Linked DNA regions of Homo sapiens: region 1 is linked to region 2. The links are contacts of gene promoters, found by promoter capture Hi-C in blood cells and fetal thymus (Javierre and others, 2016). All regions are on one chromosome and are shown on one strand. The core of a region is centred on a gene start or on the middle of the fragment in contact, and the rest is flanking DNA. Distances in the headings are between cores, read along the strand shown. Region 1 overlaps MKKS (MKKS centrosomal shuttling protein). Region 2 holds the start of ESF1 (ESF1 nucleolar pre-rRNA processing protein).

Region 1 (4,049 bases), core at 1,326-3,825, 3.4 Mb before region 2:
TAAAAGATTGAGTTTCCCATTGTTGGAATGTGCCATATGATTAACCAACCAGATTAAATGGAACTTACCTGAAGATTGCAAGCCTGCTACTTCCCCTGGATTTGGCTCTTCTGAAGATTTGAAAGTCCCAGACTATCTTGCTCAGGAATGTCGTCGTTTTTAGGTATTTGGAAAACAGGGCTGCTTTTGATTCTGTACCACCCCAAATGTATGAGCCCAACTAAAGGGACCATAACAACCAAAACTTTGTAGTCTCTCCACAAGTTCCGAAGGCTCATAGTACTTCAGCATCAGTGTACCTAAGAAAAGGTTACAGTTAGAGGAAAAAAACCACTAAAACCCATAACCTCCCTTTAATTACATTTCTAAATCACTACAAGTAGCATGCTGTACTCTAACAAATGCTGACTGTTAAACATTTTAAATTATAATACATTGCAATGTTAATAAACAAAAAGAGACATGTCATTGACCCAAAGGGAGCAGGCAGTCAGCCTTGGGAAACTTACAGAGCAATACTGACTTTTTGGCAACAATTGCAAAGGAGCAACATTACCTGCTGGAAAAGCTATATGAATCTTTGAAAACACACATGCATGGAGTGTTCTTTAAATATATTAATGTTCTCTGAGCCACAATAGAGTAAGAGCCTTTTTTTAAATTATATTTTTTAAAAATTATAATTACAGGCTGAGGGTGGTGGCTCACGCCTGTATTCCCAGCACTTTGGGAGGCTGAGGCAGGCAGATTGCCTGAGGTCAGGAGTTCGAGACCAGCCTAGCCAACACAGTGAAACATCGTTTCTACTAAAAGTATTAGTCGGATATGGTGGCGCATGCCTGTAATCCTAGCTACTCTGGAGGCTGAGTCAGGAGACTTGCTTGAACTTGGGAGGTGGAGGTTGCAGTGAGCCAAGATCATGCCACTGCACTAGGCAACAGAATGAGACTCCATCACAAAAAAAAAAAAAAAAAAATTACATTTAGTCACAATTTTAACAGAAGAATCAAACGGTAATCCACAAATATGCAGTAAGAATTTAGGTTCTATATTCTGACAGGATGTAGTGATAGTGTTTCAACTGCGATTGCAACAGCTGAACATGGATTCCAATTGCAGTAAAAGATTTCTGGCTTGAACGCTACAAATCAGAATGAATGTAATGCCATTTCCACATTTATGTGCAAAACTACTGCATTTTAGAGTGTTTGCCCTGAATCACTAGAAAACCCTAACTTACAGGGTTATCGACCTAGTTTAGACAAAGAAACTGGGGCTAGACAGTTGCCTGGAGTTACAAAGTTAGTTAGCTTTTAAAATATATATATATATATTTTAAATTTGGAAAGGATGGAAGTAGGGCCCAGAAAGATGCTATGTTTGATGATCTGTTGGGTTTGGGAACTTGAATCTGGACAACCTCTAAAGACTCCTTATACTCTTAATAAGGACTGCTCCACCATCTATGAGACATGCTATGAACTTGGCTCAATTGCATCTCTGAGTTTTAGTACCATGAAATCTCCTAAATTACTTTATTTTTGTCTAAATGCCATTAGAAAAAGGTCTGAAAAGAATTTCTTATTCCCCCTTTTAAGACCAAAACACAATAGTACTGAGTTAAATAGTCTGAACCATCTGTGTTCTGTGTATACATACTAAAAATAATAAAAGATGTTATCTTATAGCTATGAACATGTTATTCTTAGCATTATAAATCATTTCTCCCAAAGGTCTCAATTCATATTTTATAAGGACTTTGTGGCAAAATTTTAATTACTAGATAGAGGAAACACGACCTGCTTTGTAAATGAAAGTATTTTATGGCCTTTTCCTTTTCTAACGTACTGTGGTATACTATATACTTTTTGTAACCTTTAGAGAATACACCTTTTATTGACATGCTTATGTTCCATTTTTAGAGGGAATCAATTACAAATAACTGTATCATAATTAAATTTCATTGTGAAGTCCAAAGGCAAAAGCCTTTGGGAATTTAAGGGTACAATAAAATAACTGGGGGAGGAATTTAGAGTAAGGAGGGAAGAATTCTATTAAGGGCTACTTACTTATAGGAGGGACAGAGGCTGCACCAAAGGTCAGCTGGCCTGTGTTGATTGACATATGGCATTCTTGTTTGCAAACACCTTAACTAAAGGCCTAGAAGATACTGTTATTTATATCCAGTCTCAATACTTAAGGTGACTTTGGCACCTCTATTCCCCTCAACATGAGGTTATCAAGTTATATTATCTTTTTTTTTTTTTTGTGAGACAGAGTCTTGCTCTGTCACCCAAGCTGTAGTGCAGTGGTGCGATCTCAGCTCACTGCAAGCTCCGCCTCCCAGGTTCACGCCATTCTCCTGCCTCAGCCTCCCGAGTAGCTGGGACTACAGGTGCCCGCCACCACACCTGGCTAATTTTTTGTATTTTTAGTAGAGACAGGGTTTCACCGTGTTAGCCAGGATGGTCTCGATCTCCTGACCTTGCGATCCGCTCGCCTCGGCCTCCCAAAGTGCTGGGATTACAGGTGTGAGCCACTGCGCCCGGCCCTTCAAGTCACATTACTTTTAAGAGCCATTTCTGCCATTCACCATTTACTTCTCCATGATCATTAACATAATTCAACATTTGTCAGCTTTTTTCTGAACTATAAACTCAAGGAAAAAAAACCCTAGCTTATAAAAAGAGATTAGGGCCAGGTGCAGTGGCTCACAAAAGTGTAATCCTAACACTTCGGGAGCCTGAGGTGGGCGGATCACTTGAGCCTAGGCAACGTGGCAAAACCCGTTTCTACAAAAAATACAAAAATTAGCTGGGCATGGTGGCGCACGCCTGTAGTTCTAGCTGCGTGGGGGGTGCTGAGGTAGGAGGATCGCTTGGACCTTGGGAGGCTGAGGCTGCGGTGAGCTGAGATAACACCATTGCACTCCAGGACAGGTGATGAAATGCGATCGTTTCAAAAAAACAAACCAAAAGCAAAAAAGAGACTGGATAGGATAAAAGGATGTAATAATAAAATTGAGATTTGTAACTCAAGAACTAAAATTAGGAACAAATTAAATGACAATCTGTAACACTAATGTTTGGGGAAGTGTTGTACTATTCTCTCCAGCAAAGTGGTTAACAGCATGTAATGACATAGTATGAACCCTCTTTGAGAAGAGTGAAAATTATATAGGGTTAGCTCCCTATAATACTTAGTGAATCTTTAGGTCATCTCCCAGTTAAAGATAAAAGAAATGCTCAATTTTATGTATATTGTGCTTAACAGTCTATTACTCTTTCCATTAGGATAACTTAAGGATCGATGAATCTTTTTCTAGATTTAGGTTTAGTTAAACCTGGAAATCAGTATCTATTTTAACTGAAAACTCTATTTGCTAAACATCACTGAGACTCAGTACAGTATTTCCTGGTTAGTAAATGATGTAGACTGATTTAATGATTAATTGCTTTAATGTTTACTGAACATCTACATGTCCCCACTTCCTCAAATTCTCCATATCTCATATATTGATTTGGCTAATGGGGGTGAGAGAGCAAGTAACTATTTTCTGACAGATAATTCTGTTGTCCTTTGAGAGGCTTGGGAAATGATTAGGATCAGTATGGAAGGGCTTTTCACGTTACAAACTATTTTTAGAGTTTTCATTTAATTCACATAAAAACAATAAGTATCACACTGTACATATAATAGTCCCTTTTCACTGAGCAAGATGGAATTAGCACTTTAAAATGACATTGGCATATAATGAGACCTCATCTCTATTTTAAAAGAAAAAAATATATATTAAATAAAAAGGAAAAAAAAAGGCCAGGCACAGTGGCTCACACCTGTTACCCCAGCACTCTAGGAGGCTCAGGCAGGGGGACTGCTTGAGCCCATGAGTTCGAGACTGCCTGGGCAATACAGTGAGACTTCATCTCTATTTTAAAAGAAAAAACATATATTTTTAAAAAATGACATTGGCATATAACTTTAAACTACTTCATTTCTTTCACTTAATAGTGAAAAATCTCCAGTACATTGGATGTATTCTATTGCCT
Region 2 (3,788 bases), core at 1,273-3,772:
ATTCCATAATACTATGAAAATACTTATTAATGTGTTTACATTTTTGAAAGATCAGTATAAAAATAAATAATGTAACACCCAAGAATCTCTAATTTTTTCCAACCTACCTGATTGCATTTCTCTTCTTGTCTTAGAACACTCGATTCTGGGAGATTTCACAATTTCAGAGGTGCCTGAGTCTAATGTCCTTTGTTTTTCTTCGAGAGAAGAGTCTGTAGTATGTTGAACAATGTTTTTTTTCTCTTTCTTATTTTTTTGTGTAAATTCTTTGCTATCCTTCTTCGGACTTATGTTTGAATCTATCTTAAATTTACATGAGGTTTTCATTTTTTTAATTCCTATAGAATTATCTAAATCAGTTTTATTTTCAGAACCCTTGTGATTAGCCTTCTTGGTTTCTTTCTTTTTCTCAACTAGATTTTTTGAATCGATTTCTTTTTTAGTCTGGGTTTTTTTCTTCTTTATTTTCTTTTGACTCAATGCTTTGCTATCTTCACCAGAGAGATTGGAATCAGAATCTGAAAGGTCGTAAAAACGCTTCAAATCCTCTGTAGTGCTATGGCTAATGGGGCGCCCTCTTTTATCCACGGCATAGTTCAACTTGAACTTCTTGTCATGAAACATGGCTCGAAATCTCTTGTCAATTTTGACTTTTCGATCCTTTTCTGGCATTTCCCAAAATCTCGGGTCCTTTGCAACCCGTCTAAACCGCTGGTCACTCATTATTTCTTGTTTGGATGACATTTTTAATTCTTAATCTCGACCAAATGCTTGAAGAAAACAAATACTGAAAAATAAAACAAATGTTTTAATGGTAATAATGGTTAGTACAATAATTAAATGTTTTAAAACACATTCACAATATATTCTAAGTTAATATATTCTAAGTTAAGTGTACATAAAATAGAGGTAACAAGTCTAATTTCATCTCTCCAACGTATTCTGGGTCACATGCAAAAAAGCAGAAACATACCAAAATATCCTCTTTCCATGACAGATCATTTAGAGAAATAAACTTAAGGTAGACAAAGCAGAATCCCAGGGCTTTATGGAGGGGAACAAATGTTTATTCATCCATTGCTCTCACTTAGAATTTCTATTTGTATACCAGTATGTGTTACTAATTGAAGGCAAATGTAGTTAAGATTCCCTAGGCCGAGTGCGGTGGCTCACCAGCACTTTCGGAGGCCAAGGCGGGCGGATCACTTGAGCCCAGGAGTTCAGGACCAGCCTGGGTAACATGGTGAATCCCCACAAGAAATACAAAAATGAGCCCGGCATGGTGGCGCGCGCCTGTAGTCCCAGCTACTTTGGAGGCTAAGGCAAGAGGATCACTTCCACCCGGGAGGTCTTGGCTAGAGTGAGCCTAACGGCACTACAGCACACCAGCTGGGGCAACAGAGTGAGACCCTGTCTACCAAAAAAAAGTAAGAAAGAAAGATTCCCTAGCCTCCGTTGGCCTCATTTGTTTCTTCACATTCTGGTCTCATTCTGCTTACTCCTTATCTCCGGCTACTGCCAACAAACAGCCTTTAGTTCTGTAAGACTAGCATTCTAACTAAACAGACCAAAATCAACTCAGGTTTAGCTAAGAAAGTTTCCTTTTTAAATTCGATCATCCTTCAAAAGTAATAAAAAGTTTAAAAATAAAAAGTAAATTTGAGTCTCCAGGTAAAGTCTCACACCAGTTAATAAATATCACTTCTTTCTATAATATCTGATTCTACCAGTGATGAAGGCCCAAGTGAGCTCATTCCCCCAAAACATACTAGAACATATACATATGTGTGTATAAATTAATATTGTTCCCTTGTGAAAAGTCTCCAATGGTTTAGCATCTCTGGATGGGAATTTTGCAAAGAGCCAAAAGTCGTTGATTATTAAGCAACCCCCCCCCAAAATGATTAAAAGGGCAATATTTCTTATTTAAAAATCAAGTCCTTTTAATTACACTAACTAGGAAAAAAAAGGAAGCTATCGCTGGTGCATTTACACATTTTTCGATGTATTACAGCACTTAACTCTCTGAGCAATCTTACGAGGTAGGTACCACCTCAACCAGGAGAAGTACTGCATGTATTGTAAATGTTTAGAAGGAAAGCACTCATTATATGTCAGATAATCCGAGAGAGGGGAAGGCGACCGGACCTCACTCCCGACACGCGCCCGCATCCCCGTAGCCCACCCTCCCCTTCTGCCCGCTCTCTAATTCGGAGAACACAGGGCTGGCCCCTGAACTAGGGTCTCCTTTCCACCTCCTGTACCGCAGGGGGGCAGCTAACAGACTGATTCGAGAAGCGACCCTGAAAAGGATCGATGAAGACTGAAGAATGAGACCGAAAAAGGCTCAGGAGGAAGGGGCAAAACCCCTCGCAGATCCGAAAGAGATCCTGTTAGAGACTAGTTTTTTCCCCGCGCCACACACACACACGCCCTCAAGCCCTTCATCTCGAGCTCTTCAACTCCAGTCCATCCCCACTCACCGTCCGCAGTCCTACCAAGCCTCACGTGGGGCTCACACCCACAATCCTCCGCGTGACGCTCCGCCGTAATGGCAAGCGAACTAGGCCAAACTACTTGCACGTTCCCTCGAGAAGATCTTTGGAGTAGACACAAAAGCCGCGCTGGCGCATGCGCACAAAAAGCGCCGGCAATTGGGGTCGCAGCTGGAGATGCTGCGGCCGGCAGGGCTCTGGCGCTTATGTCGGCGACCTTGGGCGGCGAGGGTCCCAGCGGAGAATCTTGGCCGTAGGGAAGTCACCTCTGGTGTCTCTCCCCGCGGTAGCACCTCGCCCAGAACCCTGAATATTTTCGACCGGGATTTGAAAAGGAAACAGAAGAACTGGGCAGCCCGGCAGCCCGAGCCGACCAAATTTGACTACCTGAAGGAGGAGGTGAGCCCGCGGGGCGGCGGGGCGGCGGGGCGGGCGACGCGGAGGCTTGTTTTCCTCTCCGCTAGTTCCGGCTAGGCCCCGAGCTCACCCCACCTAGCCGTCTGACCTTGACCAGCAGCCCTGCCTCTTTCGGCCTCTACTGTAATCACGCAAGGCCTGGCCTCGGATATTTGTAACATGCTTTCATTCATTCATGCATTCATTTCGGCAACGTCCTTGAGGCTGAAAGGACCTTATAGAGGCCTCCAGTGAAGCTCCGGAGAGGGAGAGAGTGGGAGAGAAGGTTAGGAGGACCCAAATCATCAGGGCCTTGCAGGATAGGGACTTGGGGTTTTCTTCTGTATCTGCACTGTCCAGCCAGTATGGTAACTGCCGGCCACACATGTGGCTGTTGAACACTTGAAAGGTGACTAGTCCAATTGAGATGTGTTGTAAAATACACACGAGTATAGTGACTTAGTATGAAAAAAGGATGTAAAATAGCTCATTAAGAGCTTTTATATTGATTACATGTTGCAGTGATTATTTTTGATATATTGGGTCACATGAAATATATTAAATATAAATTTAAATTTTTCAATTAAAATTTCTCTCGTTTTTACTTTTTTTCTTATGTGGCTACTAGAAAATTTGAAATTACATATGTGGCTCTCATGATTTTTGGTCAGCACTGCTCTAGGGGAATGTGAAGCTCTTGTTTTAATCAGTGGAGTGATCTGACTTATGTTTTAGGAAGATCAAATTAAGATTTCTGATTTGTCTTGGCTCGTTTGAGAAACCTTTCTCCCTGCCCAGGTGAGCCAGAGACTGAGGGTTTCTACTTTCAGGACACGCATTCTCAAGTTCAGGCCTCAGTAAATTTTTATTCAGGAGTGGAACAAAGTTGGAGTCAAG

Evidence for each region. The method cuts DNA at HindIII sites, captures the fragments that hold promoters and counts their contacts. A CHiCAGO score of 5 or more calls a contact.
Region 1: a fragment that was not itself captured here is called in contact with the fragment with the promoter of ESF1 in region 2 in 2 of 17 cell types (total CD8 T cells and non-activated CD4 T cells); the score reaches 10.2 in total CD8 T cells.

Annotation. Positions count from the first base shown.
Region 1 is chr20:10,420,460-10,424,508 of GRCh38, forward strand. MKKS (MKKS centrosomal shuttling protein) reads right to left here. Exons shown (of 6, transcript NM_170784.3): 2 at 69-299. LOC128706665 reads right to left here. Exons shown (of 3, transcript NM_001394148.2): 2 at 69-299. The coding sequence starts at 278. The coding sequence ends at 87. It overlaps LOC128706666, which reads right to left. Exons shown (of 3, transcript NM_001394149.2): 2 at 69-299. Among named protein-coding and RNA genes, the nearest start is that of MKKS, 12 kb to the right of the region's middle. RefSeq lists an enhancer at 1-38. The HindIII fragment of the contact is 8,150 bases long and covers 1-4,049 here.
Region 2 is chr20:13,782,397-13,786,184 of GRCh38, forward strand. It overlaps ESF1 (ESF1 nucleolar pre-rRNA processing protein), which reads right to left and starts at 2,523. Exons shown (of 14, transcript NM_001276380.2): 1 at 2,484-2,523; 2 at 108-787. The coding sequence starts at 744. NDUFAF5 (NADH:ubiquinone oxidoreductase complex assembly factor 5) reads left to right here and starts at 2,632. Exons shown (of 11, transcript NM_024120.5): 1 at 2,632-2,894. The coding sequence starts at 2,673. RefSeq lists enhancers at 2,568-2,857, 2,853-3,542. The HindIII fragment of the contact is 9,427 bases long and covers 1-3,788 here.